Regions from separate parts of the Homo sapiens genome. Here regions 2, 3, 4 and 5 are each linked to region 1. Evidence: promoter capture Hi-C in 16 types of primary human blood cells and fetal thymus (Javierre and others, 2016). All regions are on one chromosome and are shown on one strand. Each heading gives the region's core, a stretch centred on a gene start or on the middle of the fragment in contact. The rest is flanking DNA. Distances are from core to core; before and after follow the strand shown.

Region 1 (2,779 bases), core at 82-2,581:
GTGGAAGGACCACAAAGGGCCTTGTAGAAAGAAGATGAAGAAGCAGAGAGGCTTAGTAACTTGGCTTTGCAGTTAGTAATAGAACCTGGATTTGACTTCAAAGTCTACACTGCATAATAAGGGTATATTCAACAGACTTTGGTTCTGCAATTATCTCTTTTTGCTCCTTCTTTGGAAATTGCCAAAGTTCCCTCTACTGGATTATTCCTTTAGCATAAAAACATGCTGTAATAATTTCCTTCTTAGACAAACCAAAAAAACCAAAAAGTCTGGCCAGGCACGGTGGCTCACCCCTGTAATCCCAGCACTTTGGGAGGCCGAGGAGGGTGGATCACGAAGTCAGGAGTTGAAGACCAGCCTGGCCAACATGGTGAAACCCTCTCTCTACTGAAAATACAAAAATTAGCTGGGTGTGGTGGCATGCACCTGTAGTCCCAGCTACTCGAGAGGCTGAGGCAGGAGAATTGCTTGAACCCAGGAGGCAGAGGTTGCAATGAGCTGAGATCGTGCCTCTGCACTCCAGCCTGGGTGACAGAGTGAGACTCTGTCTCAAAAAAAAAAAAAAAAAAAAATTCCTCTATCCTACATCCCTCTTTAGCTCCTTTCCTATTGTTGTTTTGTTTTGTTTTGTTTTTATAGCAAAACCCCTTTAAGAGTTGCCTATACTTACTCCCTCCATTTCCTTATTTTCTGTTTCTTGCTGAACTTCTTCTAATTAGGATTTCTTACCTACCACCATTTTCATAAGTGACCTCCATGACTCAGCCCTTACCTTATAGGATTTCTTGGCAGTGCTTGAAATAGTTGATCTTCCTTTTTGGAGCACTTCTTCATTGGCTTCTGAGACACCACACAGTCTTGGTTTTCCTCCTACCTCCTGCCAGCTCCTTCTTAGGCTCCATTGCTGGGTTCTTTTCCCCTTTTGCAGTTTGAGCGTGCCAGGGCTCTGTCCTGGGCCATCTTTATTTCTCTAAATACATTAACTCCTGGGTAATTTCATCTAGTCCCATGGAGTGACAGTTAATTTTATGTGTCAACTTGGCTAGCATACGGTGCCCAGTTGTTTGGCAGATAAAAGCATAGATGTTGCTGTGAAGGTATTTTTTAGATGTGACTTACAATGAAATCAGTAGGCTTTGAGTAAAGCTAGTGACCCTCCATAATGTGGATGGGCTTCATCCAATTAGTTGAAGACCTTAGAGAAAAGATGGAGGTTTCCCAAAGAGGAAGCAATTCTGCACCCAGACCACCGTTAGTCTCAAGATTGCCACATCAATGCCTGCTTGAATTTCCAGCCTATCAGCCAGCCTTGGAGTTTTCAGACTTATCAGCCCTCACAACTGTGTGAGTCAATTCTTTAAAAAAAAGAAAAGAAAAAAATCTCTCTATATATACATGTATCCTATTGGTTCTGTTTCTCTGAAGAGCTGTGACTAATACACATGGTATTAAATATCTTTTATGTTTGACACCAAATGTTTATTTCTAGCCTTGACTTCTCCCTTGAACTCCATACTTACATATCCAACTGCTTAGTCAACCTCTCCATTTGGATAATAATAGATCTGTTAACCCATACTATGGATTTGTCCCAAACTATTGTTTTCCCCCACCTCCCATCTTTCTTCCTCCTCTCTGGGTGTTCCTGCTTTTCATTGAAGAGTGCTATTATTTACCCCATTGCTAAAGCCAGAAATCTAGCGTTATCATTGATTCTCTTTCTCTTACATCTCTTATTCCATCCATCTGTACAACTGTACAACATATATCTGTGCAATTAGCTTTACCTTCAAATGTATTTTTTAACCTCACTAATCAGCCTTTATCATCTCTAGCTTGGACCAGGACAGTAACTTCCTAGCAGGTCTGTATATCTCCATATCTCCACTTTTTTTTTTTTTTTTTTTCTTTTTGAGATGGAGTCTCACTGTGTCGCCCGGGCTGGAGTGCAGTGGTGGGATCTCGGCTCACTGCAAACTCCGCCTCCCGGGTTCACGCCATTCTCCTGCCTCAGCCTCCCCAGTAGCTGGGACTACAGGCGCCTGCTACCACGCCCGGTTAATTTTTTGTATTTTTAGTAGAGATGGGGTTTCACTGTGTTAGCCAGGCTCATCTCAATCTCCTGACCTCGTGATCCGCCCGCCTCAGCCTCCTGAAGTGCTGGGATTACAGACATGAGCCACCGAGCCCGGCCATATCTCCACTTTTAAGTCCCTGCCCTCCTTAGCCTATTTTCCACACAACTGAGCAATTATTTTATCATACAACAATCATTTCCTTCTCTTCTCTTCACACTCTGGCATCTTACCACATTTAAAATGAAATCCAAAATCCTGACTATGGCCTGATGATGGATGTGACCCCTGGCTATTCCTCTGACCTCACTTCCTACCACTTTTTTTCTCACTCATTAGGCTTTAGACATACTGGTTACTTTGTGGATTCTTGGATAAGTCAAGCAGACTCCTAGCTTAGGGCTTTAGTATGTTGAAGCCAGAATAAAAATGTGAGACAAGTCTCTAAATTAAAATTTTTTATTTGGAAAGAAAGAATAGCAATTTGGGGCATATATGCAGACAGGGTGGTCTTCAGTATGTCTGAAGAACAAAGAGAAGGTTAGAGGTTTTAGAAACAGGAGAGCTGTTACATATTGCTCTTCAAGAAAGTTCTTTGGGACTAGTTAGGGTTTGGGGAGCTAGCAAGCTCTGGTGAGTGATGGCAGTGGGCAAAATTAGTCCTAGAGTTTCAGCAAGTTCTCTTAGCATTTATAGATAAAGCT
Region 2 (2,779 bases), core at 78-2,577, 830 kb after region 1:
AATGTCTGTTCACATCCTTTGCCCATTTTTAAATTGGGTTATCTTTTTAGTATTGCATTATAGGACAAGTATTGACTTTTAATTCCCACCACAATCCTATAAAGTAGATACAATGTCATCTCCATTTGTAAATGAGAAAACTAAGGCATAGAAAAGTTAAGTAACTTAGTCAAGTAAGTGACACATTTAGTTAAATAATGAATATCAGGCAGCTTGACTCCAGAGCCTGTGCCCTTATCCAATACCCTGAACTGCCTCACAAATACTTTATATATTTGTAAACTGAAATTACTTTCCTTTGACTTCTTTTCTTGCAGGCTGGATAGACTTAGTCTTACTTTAAAAATCATCCCCCCCCAAATTTGTAATTGTCTCTTTTTGTTCCTCAACACTTCTGTGAGAATCATTGTATGTAAGTTATAGGAACTCTACTAGGAAACTGTCATTCTCAACCTGTACTATCTCTGAGGGTAATAAGTTTCATATATCTGTCACTTGGCATTAAGTAATACATGTTGATTTTTTAAACAGATGCTGTTGGGCTTTCTCGCCATTAAGTAATACTTGTTGATTTTTTTAAGACTTGCTGTTGGGCTTTAAGGGCCTCTTCTAGATAGGATTATAAAATCTGTTTTTTTTCTCAACTCTCAGATTTTATAAAAGGGTGAAATCATCTCTTAGTTTTTATCTTCCCCTACAGAAGCTTTCTAATCTTTACAATCTTATTATATGACAGACTCCATCTCCGCAGTTGCTCTCTTCGGAACCTCTGTTTAAGTTCTATTATTGGGCAGTTATTTTATTGTTTTTACTATACAAGGTTCTTAGTATTTTGGGAAAAACCACAAACTCAGATAAAACCTCTGTAAACAAAAATTACAACCTAATGAGAAAGGGTATATAATAACTTACTTGCATAAATAGTTAGTTAGTATGTAACCAGAAGGGAGATCTGAGATTTCACTTGATAAATAGATCACATATAGTCAATGATCAGGAAGAGGTGGAAATTGAACGGGCTTTAGGAGTGAACTCCACATACTATTTTAAGTGTTTCTGAGCATGGATTTATACAAGAAAAGATGTATTTTCTGTCTTGTTTCATTCTTAATTTATTTTGACCCTTTAGCTACAATATCTTATTAAATTTGTGGCTGCATAGAAAATTCAAAAATGATGAAAGGTTTTTCCCCATGATCATAACTAATGGAGTTTAATAATGTTACTATTACCTTATTACCTTGCATTTTCTTATACTGCACTCATAATCAGCCACCTTATGCTCCATAGGACAAGTAGAGTCGTGATTGTGTCATGTTGGGCCATTTCTTTCCTTACGTGTTGTCTAATGAGATTGTTTTGGATGAAGTAGTTGATATGGTGCTAATGTTGAGTACAGGATCTAACACAAGTTTAAGTCGAATAAAGCTAGCCTCAATTTGTGTTTTTAAAATTTCAGTTATTTTTCAAATTAAAAGAAATGTTCTTTTCCTTTGTTTCTGTAGCTTTTGCCTTATGAACAGTCCTCTCTTTTGGAACTCATAAAGACTGAAAACAAGGTACAGAATCCTAAATCTAAAAAATTGTTTTAAAAATGTTTTAGTTATCTGTAACAATTTACTTTTTATTTTGTTTTTACTCATGAAACTAGGTCTTAAACAAAGTCATCACTGTTTATGCTGCACTTTGTTGTGAAATCAAGAAATTAAAATATGAGGTAATTATTTGAATTCTTGTCTTAAAACTTTAAAAACATCATTTAGAAGCAAGTATGTGTTTATATATGTACAGTGTGCAATAAATATTTATTGAATGTTGAATGAATTATTTATTTAACGTAATACTAATACGGACTACCATTCATTGAGTACTTAGTATGTACAAAACACCAGGCTAACACTGTAATCCTTATAGTAACCCCAGGAGGTAGGTGAGACATTGATGAGGAAACTGAAGCTTAAAGAGAGTGTCACTTGCATAACATCTTACTGGTAGTCAACAGTTTGAATCTAGGTTTACAAACCTCCAGAGTTTGTGTTACCTGCCATATATACTGGCTATCTAGAGAAAACTGATTTTTTTTTCTTAAAATGCATTTAGTTTTGTGTTTCCTTACCCAAGAACCATTAAAAGTCTGGTAGAAGTTGACAAACTTCGTATTTTCTTCTCCTGCTTTTTGATACCATGTGGTTGCTCTTTATTTCCCATAAACTAATGGGAGGATGTGGGACAGTGAGGGTGGTCAGATAAGATGAAGTAAAGGCTAAAGGAATCAAGATACAGCTTTGAGTATCAGTAATATTTTTGTTACTCTAAAGATGAATTGCTTTATAAACAGATTTTGAATTTAAATGAATTTGTATGCAAATGATGTAGCCCTCTGTTTATTACTAAGTATACAGATCTAAGAGAGCATAGGAATTTGGAAACAAAACAACCTTTAAAATTATTTTAATTTTTTTCTTAAAAACAGGCTGAAACTAAATTTTACAATGGTCTCTTGTTTTATGGAGAAGGAGGTAAGTTTAAAATTCCAAATTGTGATGCCTTTTTGATATTGAAATGAACAAAAAGTTAACAGACAATTTTAGGACTACTATGATTATATAATAGTGTGAGAAAAATAAGTATTCATATTTTTTGTTGGTATGTTTGGTAAACAGGTAAAAAAGCTGAGGAAGCAGCAGCAAATTTGTGATATCTTTGTACTTTACGAAGTACTGTAGGTAGATGAGAATTTTCCTTGAATTCATTAAATAGTGAAGCAAATACTTCTAAT
Region 3 (2,779 bases), core at 152-2,651, 790 kb after region 1:
CCCATGGATAGAAGACCCTTCAGGCCCTGCCCGCCTCTCCCGCCTCAGCTCTCCCCATGCCTGTCCTCACAGTTCAGACCCTGGCTTCACTGAACTCCTTTTGCAAGTCCTTGACCAGGTGCTGGAGTCTCTTATCTCTGGGGCTTCACCTACTTGTCTTGCTCTCAACCTGGTTAACTCTTCTCGAGCAAAGCAGTGAGCTTTTCTAGGAAGCCTTTCCTAACATGCCTGAGTCTCAGCCTCCATGATAGCGTTTATCTTACTGCACTGAGAATGTTTATTCACTTCTCTGCACTCCCCATAAAACTGCAGGCTCCTTAGATCAGGCGCTGGATTTAGTGTCTGCTGCACAATAAATGCTTAATACATGCTGAGTAAAGGGGAGAGTGAATCACAGACCTGCCTCATGACCAAGGAAGAACCATGGGAAGCCCAGATTTATCTGTAATATCTCTTACAAAGGTAATAATCGGGGAGGGGGGTGGGGGGAGTGGTCCCTAAAACATACCTGTCCATTTATCTCTGTCCAAGCTCCAGGGACTTTATCATGACCTCGAATCCAGTTATGTAAAACTTCGGCAGACTGGTCCCAAGAAATCTAGGAAGGCACAAAATACAGGCTGAGCCTCCTATGGCTGTGAACCTCAAAGGCAATAAAAACGCTTCTCGTCATCAGAGGCAGAAACACTTGTTATTGGGAAATAAAGGAATTTTTGCTTCTTAGTTTTATTTGGAGTAAGTATTTTGTCAGGTGGCTGATTTAGTAAACAAGAGACTTTATTAAAGGAAAATAAAAAGCAGAGGGTTATTTAAAGGGACAGTATGCTTTGTAAAGATGAAGTAGAGCGGGCTGTTGAGGGGAGTAGGCCAGTAGCTGTTGGAGAGTTTTATGTTGGGTTTTTATTAGGTTGAACTTTTTTTTGAAGTTCCCACCTCTGTTAAGTCTCTGCCTCTTTTTTTTTTTGTCTAGTTTGTTTGTGTCTGTCTTAGCTCTCTGCTTTGTCCGCACCTAGATTTTGTCTCAGGTTTATGGGACCCTCCATATTATTAGTTGGTGTGTATGTGTGGATTGGTGTTGGATATGAATATTACCTGATGCCTGTGTTGTTTACTATTGTCACTGCAGGGAGGTTGTATAGTGGCCAAATCTATACCTACTGCATCTGTGTGTTTTTTTGGAATTTCCTTCTCTGCCCTAAGCTGAACTTATGGCTCCAGGTTTTTGTTTTTTGTTTTTTGAGACAGGGGTCTCACTGTGTTGGCCAGGCTGGTCTCGAATGCCTGGTCTCAAGTGATCCTCCTCCCTCAGCCTCCCAAAGTGCTGGGATTACAGGCATGAGCCACTGTGCCCAGCGCACCTAGCATGCCAGATTTTTTAAGGAATATCCCCTTTGCCCTTTTCATTAGCATGTAGCTAGTGATATTTTGACATTTTAACTGCAGAGCGAAGGATTGTTGGGCAGACTGAAGAGGCGTTTCTGGGCATTTTTTATTTGCTTGTTTGTTTGTTTGTTTGCATAGTATCTCCTCTCCTTTCTATGCACATTTGACTAAGTGCCCACCCACTCCAGCATTAGAGATACTATTAATATGCAAATTTTGAGTGGTCTTCCAGACACGAGTCTTCCTAGACTTTATTTTCTTTAGGGGACTCCCCTCTCCTGCGTATGTCTGGCTACCTGTCTACTCTAACAGGTAGGGCTAGGGCAAGCTGGCTTACCTTTTGGCAAGATCATAGTATGTGGGGAACTACTGAAGGGTAGAGGGCCATGAACTCTGAGACGTGTTATTGAGTTGATATATAAATACCTCAGCATTTTCCTTTTTCTGGATACCTTCATATGTTGCCCCTTCTTCTGGCTGGGGTATACGAGGAGCTTTTCCATCAGCTATGAGTTGGACAGCTTCTACCTAAGGCCAAAGACATCACCTGTGTTACAGCCCAATGATCAACAATGGCATGGTCTATTTGACTAAAGTTTCTGCATAACAGAATTACTACCTATAAACCTGTTCAGAGAGTCAAGAGTATGATGATAACTACCATTTCTTCAGGTCCATCCTGACAAGCAGTGTGGTAGCTACTTTATGTAAAATATCCCTTGAAAACATAACACAAATCCTGCAAGGTGTATATTGTTATTCCTGTTTTACACCTGAGGAAACTGACAGAAAAAGAGCTAAGCAAGGCCGGGCGCAGTGGCTCACGCCTGTAATCCCAGCACTTTGGGAGGCCAAGGCAGGCGGATCACGAAGTCAGGAGATCGAGGCCACGGTGAAACCCCGTCTCTACTAAAAATACAAAAAATCAGCCGGGCGTGGTGGTGGGCGCCTGTAGTCCCAGCTACTCAGGAGGCTGAGGCAGGAGAATGGCGTGAACCCGGGAGGCAGAGCTTGCAGTGAGCCGAGATCACACCACTGCACTCCAGCCTGGGCGACAGAGCGAGACTCTGTCTCAAAAAAAAAAAAAAAAAAAAGAAAAGAAAAAGAAAAAGAGCTAAGCAATTGGCTGAAGATCACAGAGAGAGCTTGTAGGTGTCAGAAACAGGATTTGTATCCAGGTCTATCTATTGCCAATCGAAGTCTGCACTCTCAAAAATGACTCCCTTGTTTAAACAAACTGCCACCTCCCTTAGTGATTCACTGGAAATGATAGGAATATAATGATAAAATAAGTCTTTATGAGTTATTTTACTCATCATGATGATTCTAAAAAATGATACCTTACTGTATTTAATGAATTCAACTTGCTTTCTAGTTTAGGAGACCTGGAATAAAA
Region 4 (2,779 bases), core at 189-2,688, 720 kb after region 1:
AGACAGTTCAGAGAACAGTTCAGAATCAGAAGACGAAGATGACAGCATCCCATCTGAAGTCACCATAGATAACATTAAGCTTCCCAATTCTGAAGGTGGAAAAGGCAAGATTGAAGTTTTGGACAGTCCAGCAAGTAAAAAAAAGAAATAGTCAAATAAATTATCTGAAAAGAAACAGGTGACATATGTCTGCAAATTCTGTGAAAAAGAATGTGATTCACGGGTTCTTTTGCTTTTCAGGCACCTATGGTGCTTTTATATGTTAAAAACTTTAGACAAGTTAAATTTGACAGAGTTTCTTTGGGCAAAGAATGATTAATGAGTTAGGTAGCATTGTAAACTGAAAGGGGTTCAGAGACCTCCGCTCTACAGCAAGGAAAGTGTGCTTTTATCAGCTGAACACAGAAGTAGAGTACAGGAATAACTTGATGGGTTACAGCTAGGTGTTTGCCTAAATAAGGCAAAGAGGAGACCTAAGGCTGCCTGATGTCCCATAGGTATGGTCTGATCTAAGGAGATCTAAGGCTGCCTTGTCCGATGGGCTGAGGCTTGGCTGTTTGTGATTGGCCAGACTTGGCTATTTGTTATAAAAATACACTCCTGAGTTAGGTTTTGGTGTGTAGAGTACAGGAATAACTTGATGGGTTACAGCTAGGTGTTTGCCTAAATAAGGCAAAGAGGAGACCTAAGCCCAGCATGTCGTCCACTGTTTGGGATGCCTGCAAACTAACCATTAGCTCCTCCTGCAAACATCATGTGTTCTGTTCCCTTGAGAAATTTCTTTCATGCATATGGTGGCAGTGTCCAAAGAAACAATAGTGTCAGCTACAAATTGTATTGAATTTTCTGTAGTAGCAAAATCTGGAAAAATAGGTACAACATTCAGTTTTGTTTAGCACCATACATAACCCCCAACATGAGCAAAGAGGAGATCTAAGGCTGCATGATATCCCATTAAGTGCTTTTGTTAAATGCTTTCAGAGGGTGGCTCCTACCCCAGGAGGTCTGGTTGGTCATAAAATAAGATTTTTCCCTATCTGTGCATTAGTTTTAAATTCCATATGACTAGCACCCAACCACTACAAAGAGTGAGTCCCCAGGAGCCCCACTGTAATCTTTCCTCAGTGGAAACTAGCATATCTTTTTTTTTTTCGAGATGGAGTCTTGCTCTGTTGCTCAGGCTGGAGTGCAGTGGCGCGATCTCAGCTCACTACAAGCTCTGCCTCCCGGGTTCACGCCATTCTCCTGCCTCAGCCTCCTCAGTAGCTGGGAGTACAGGCGCCCACCACCATGCCCGGCTAATTTTTTTTTTTTTTGTATTTTTAGTAGAGACGGGATTTCACCGTGTTAGCCAGGATGGTCTCAATCTCCTGACCTCGTGTTCCACCCTTCTTGACCTGCCAAAGTGTTGGGATTACAGGCATGAGCCACCGTGCCCGGCTGGAAACTAGCTTATCTTTATTTTCTTCATCTATTCCAAGGTTGGTGCAAATTTCAATTGCTGACCATTTTAGACTCTGATAATAGGAGGTATTTATGGGGACTTTTGGGGAAGCTATTTGGAAGGCAGGATTGAACCATGCCAAATAGCAAGATCCTAACCAGTGGGGAGCAAAATGGAGTAAGCATATTTTCTGTAGACCAATACAGGCAGACCCTCTGAGGCTGGAAAAGAGGGCTACCTAGTGGTATTTGAGCATCAGTCAGTTCAGTTCATCCACTGGTACATCTGCATAGCTCCTGAACAAGGTCCAGGAGGAAACTTACTTTTTTATAGTTCCCCTCCTTTTAAAAAGATGTTTTACATTTTATTATTTTCATTTTTTTTTTTTTTAACTTTTAGGTTCAGAGGTACATGTGGAGGTTTGTTATATAGACAAATTGGGTATTGTGGGGGTTTGGTGTACAGATTATTTCATCACCTGGTGATAAGCATAGTGCCCAATAGGTAGTTTTAAATCTGCACCCTCCTCCCACCCTCCATCCTCAAGTGGGCCCTAATGTCTGGTTCCCTTCTTTGCATCCATGTGTACTCAACGTTTAGCTCCCACTAATAAGTGAGAACATGTGGTATTTTTCTGTTCCTGTGTTGGTTGCTTAGGTCCTGATCATCTGTGTTAGCTTTCTGCCTTGATGATCTGCCTAATACTGTCAGTGGGGTGTTAAAGTCTCCCACTATTATCTAGCTCTCTTTGTAGGTCTCTGAATGCTTGCTTTATGAATCTGGGTGCTTCTCTGTTGGGTGCATGTATGTTTAGGATAGTTAGGTCTTATTGAATTAAGCCCTTTATCATTATGTAATGCCCTTCTTTGTCTTTTTTTATTTTTGTAAAAGTATGTTTTGTCTGAAATTAAAATAGCAACCCCTGCCTTTTTCTTTCTGTTTGCTTGGTAGAGTTTTCTCCATCCCTTTACTTTGAGCTTCTGAGTGTCACTGCATGTGAGGTGGGTCTCTTGAAGATAGCATACCATTGGATTTTGCTTCTTTATCCAAGTTGCCACACTGTTTCTTTTGATTGGGGCATTTAGCCCATTTACATTCAAGGTTAGTATTGATATGTGTGCATTTGATCCTGTCATCATATTGTTAGCTGGTTACCATGCAGACTTGTCTGTGTGGTTGCTTTATAGTGTTACTAATCTACCTACTTAAGTGTGTTTTTGTAGCGGCTGGTAACCCAGTCTTTCCTTTATATAGTTAGCACTCCCTTCCAAAACTCTTGTAAGGCAGATCTGATGTTAACAAATTCCCTTAGCATTTGCCTGTCTGAAAAGGATC
Region 5 (2,779 bases), core at 145-2,644, 550 kb after region 1:
CCATAAATATGGATTTAGAAAGGTGTCTCAATTTGAGACCTTACAACCTAAGCTATAATAGCATAATCACACATAACAAAAATGCAATCACGAGGCTGTTAAAAAATAATCTCAAAAATTCACCTGCTTTAACTTCCTATCTTAAGGTAAGCATATTGATCAACTCCAAAAGTTAAAGGAGCTGTTTTTACAGCTAGAAAAAAAATTCTAGGAACTATAGGCCCTCCCTTCATATCTCCTTTATCATTCTCTTTATACTTCTCCTTCAACCCAAGCTGACAGACAGAGAAACCAATTAAGAGACAGAGGCAGAACAGTCACATAGACAAAATAAAGAGCTCCTACTTTCAGTTAGAATCTGGTAGAATTAAATCCTGAGGAGTGAGAAGAAATATGAAGATTAAGTAACCTGTTTAAATCTCCTGGTTGCTTAGGTTTTTCCTTTGAGATGCCATCTGGGAACAGGGTTTGAGTTAGCATCATGATTTAAAAAAAAAAAAAGACATAACTACATCATTTAATGAGGGCCTACTATGTGTCAAGTATTTAAATATTATAACTGCTGTGCAAAAAGGAAGCCTTATCATTTTATATGCAAAGAAAATAAGACTCCAAGGAATAAAGTAACTTGCCTGAGGCCAAGCTAATTAACTTGCTCAGCTACTGGGTAGTTATCCTGGGATTCCAATTATAGTCATGTTGTTACCATATGGCTACATTCTTCCTTATCTAGAAAAGTGACTCCAAGGAATGGAGTAAGGTATCAGAATCAAGGTAGAGACTCTTAATGCTGGTTTCATAGGTTCTGATTGCTCCACTGCCACCCTAAGAGAGTCACTGTCCCAGTAATCCATAGCTATTGATGATGATGATGTTGATATTAAAAAATAAGACAATAATGATGAAAATAATAGCACCTTAAATGCATCATTTCATCCTTATAACAACCCACAAGGTTGGTCTAGTCTTAGCCCCTTTATACAGGTGGGAAACAGTGCCTGAGCAGTGACTGCCTAGCTGATGCAGGTATTTGATGGTGGAAGCCAGAGCCCAAGCCCTATAAATTATCTCACACTGCATCAGAGGAATGTGTCAGATCTCTCAAGTTTGTTGGGAGTGGAAAATAGTTGAAAATCACCACTCTATAGAATAAACTAAACTCTTTATCATCTGTTCTTTAAGCTCCTTGATGATCTTGCTACAACCTATAATTTCTAACCTTATTTTTCATCACTCCTTTTAACTCCAGGAAATTTCTGGCTGTTTTCCATAAATACCCTGAGTTTTTCTCATTTGCCTAATGCTACTCCTTTTAGCTGAAACGGCATTTTCTATGGATTCCAACAAAGCAAATTGTTATCCACTATAAAACTTCCTCCCCACATAGAAAAACCTCTCCCACTATTGAACTTCCATAGCAGTTTGTCCTTCTCTCAGAACATTCAGGAGATATTTATGTGCTTGGAATGGATTCCTACTTGACTTCAGTAGGCATTGATTCGGTATGGATCCTGTGGAATGAATATCCTTCTGGGGCAATATGCCTGGCTGGAAGAAGTTGAAGATCTAATGAAACCACAGAGAAGAGGCAGCTGTAAATCTTTAGAAGTTGCCATCCTAAAAACTATGATCCTCACTAAGAGCAAAACAAAGCATCATTTTTTTTTTGAGACAGAGTCTTGCTCTGTTGCCCAGGCTGGAGTGCAGTGGCATGATCTCAGCTCACTGCAACCTCCGCCTCCTGGGTTCTAAGTGATTCTCCTGCTTCAGCCTCCACAGTAGCTGAGATTACAGGCACAAGCCACCATGCCCAGCTAATTTTGTATTTTTAGTAGAGATGGGGTTTCACCATGTTGGCCAGGCTGGTCTCAAACTCCTGAGTTCAGGTGATCCATCCGCCTTGGCCTCCCAAAATGCTGGGATTAGAGGTGTGAGTCCCACACCCAGCCCCAAACTTATTCTTATAAAACACAGTGGTTAGGAATGTAGACTGGAGCCAGTCTCCATCTTGCTGTGTGGACTTGGACAAATCACTTAACTTCTATGCCAACTGCCTCATCTGTGAATAGGAAATGATAACAGAACCTTCCTTACTGGGCTGTTGTGAGGACTCAATCAGTTCATATACATAAAGTGCCTAGAACATTGTATGGCTCATGATAAATACTATACAAATATTTGCCATTATTATTTTTGAAACTCATATGTAGATTGGAAAAGTGGCTCCAGTTCCAAGAGGGGAACTGTTAGAGATCAAAAACTTTCAGAAGAAACAATTTAGGTGAAGCATATAAAATGGCTTATATATAAATGAAGCAGTACCATTTTCCTCTGAAAAGTTACAGATCAAGAGAAGATATAACTGAACACTATAAAATAATAAATCAAATGATGGCAGAGATAGGTGAATATACACTTTCTAGGTAAAGTACAGAGACAGTAGAACCAAGGAGTCCATCTGGAAACCTGAAGGAGATTGTTTTAGGTCAAACAAATTTAAAAATTGATAGTGTCTAATAGATGAATTTAAAATTAGCTATTTAGACTTGGAATACAATTGTTTTCAGGAAAACAAGGTTTTCTGTATTGCCTGGGTTTTCTGGCTAATCCATACAAGCCAGTTTAACTTAATATTACTCTAGGAGTAACAACAGATGATTTTAATATTAATAGACTATTTTAATTGCCAGATTGTTTTAGTATTAACATATATTTTACTAGTTATGTACGACAATGGTTTTGTAACACATCATCTGTACTGTAGGAATGGCAACTCGTA

What was found. The method cuts DNA at HindIII sites, captures the fragments that hold promoters and counts their contacts. A CHiCAGO score of 5 or more calls a contact.
Region 2: a contact is called between a fragment that was not itself captured here and the fragment with the promoter of TXNRD1-AS1 in region 1, in 8 of 17 cell types (neutrophils, fetal thymus, total CD4 T cells and 5 more). The highest score is 9.4, in neutrophils.
Region 3: a contact is called between a fragment that was not itself captured here and the fragment with the promoter of TXNRD1-AS1 in region 1, in 2 of 17 cell types (total B cells and naive B cells). The highest score is 7.7, in total B cells.
Region 4: a contact is called between a fragment that was not itself captured here and the fragment with the promoter of TXNRD1-AS1 in region 1, in 2 of 17 cell types (monocytes and fetal thymus). The highest score is 6.2, in monocytes.
Region 5: a contact is called between a fragment that was not itself captured here and the fragment with the promoter of TXNRD1-AS1 in region 1, in 1 of 17 cell types (neutrophils). The highest score is 6.3, in neutrophils.

Annotation. Positions count from the first base shown.
Region 1 is chr12:104,279,512-104,282,290 of GRCh38, forward strand. TXNRD1-AS1 (TXNRD1 antisense RNA 1) reads right to left here and starts at 1,332. Exons shown (of 2, transcript XR_007063431.1): 1 at 773-1,332. All of the region lies in intron 3 of TXNRD1 (thioredoxin reductase 1), which reads left to right. RefSeq lists a silencer at 2,560-2,779. The HindIII fragment of the contact is 3,745 bases long and covers 1-2,779 here.
Region 2 is chr12:105,112,711-105,115,489 of GRCh38, forward strand. It overlaps WASHC4 (WASH complex subunit 4), which reads left to right. Exons shown (of 33, transcript NM_015275.3): 3 at 1,506-1,559; 4 at 1,652-1,717; 5 at 2,474-2,519. Among named protein-coding and RNA genes, the nearest start is that of WASHC4, 6.4 kb to the left of the region's middle. The HindIII fragment of the contact is 1,253 bases long and covers 702-1,954 here.
Region 3 is chr12:105,064,759-105,067,537 of GRCh38, forward strand. ALDH1L2 (aldehyde dehydrogenase 1 family member L2) reads right to left here. Exons shown (of 23, transcript NM_001034173.4): 5 at 1,810-1,911; 6 at 509-598. Among named protein-coding and RNA genes, the nearest start is that of ALDH1L2, 18 kb to the right of the region's middle. The HindIII fragment of the contact is 7,481 bases long and covers 1-2,779 here.
Region 4 is chr12:104,994,546-104,997,324 of GRCh38, forward strand. It overlaps NOPCHAP1 (NOP protein chaperone 1), which reads left to right. Exons shown (of 4, transcript NM_152318.3): 4 at 1-2,779. The coding sequence ends at 151. Among named protein-coding and RNA genes, the nearest start is that of NOPCHAP1, 9.6 kb to the left of the region's middle. The HindIII fragment of the contact is 2,723 bases long and covers 78-2,779 here.
Region 5 is chr12:104,834,194-104,836,972 of GRCh38, forward strand. All of the region lies in intron 10 of SLC41A2 (solute carrier family 41 member 2), which reads right to left. Among named protein-coding and RNA genes, the nearest start is that of SLC41A2, 120 kb to the right of the region's middle. The HindIII fragment of the contact is 4,028 bases long and covers 1-2,779 here.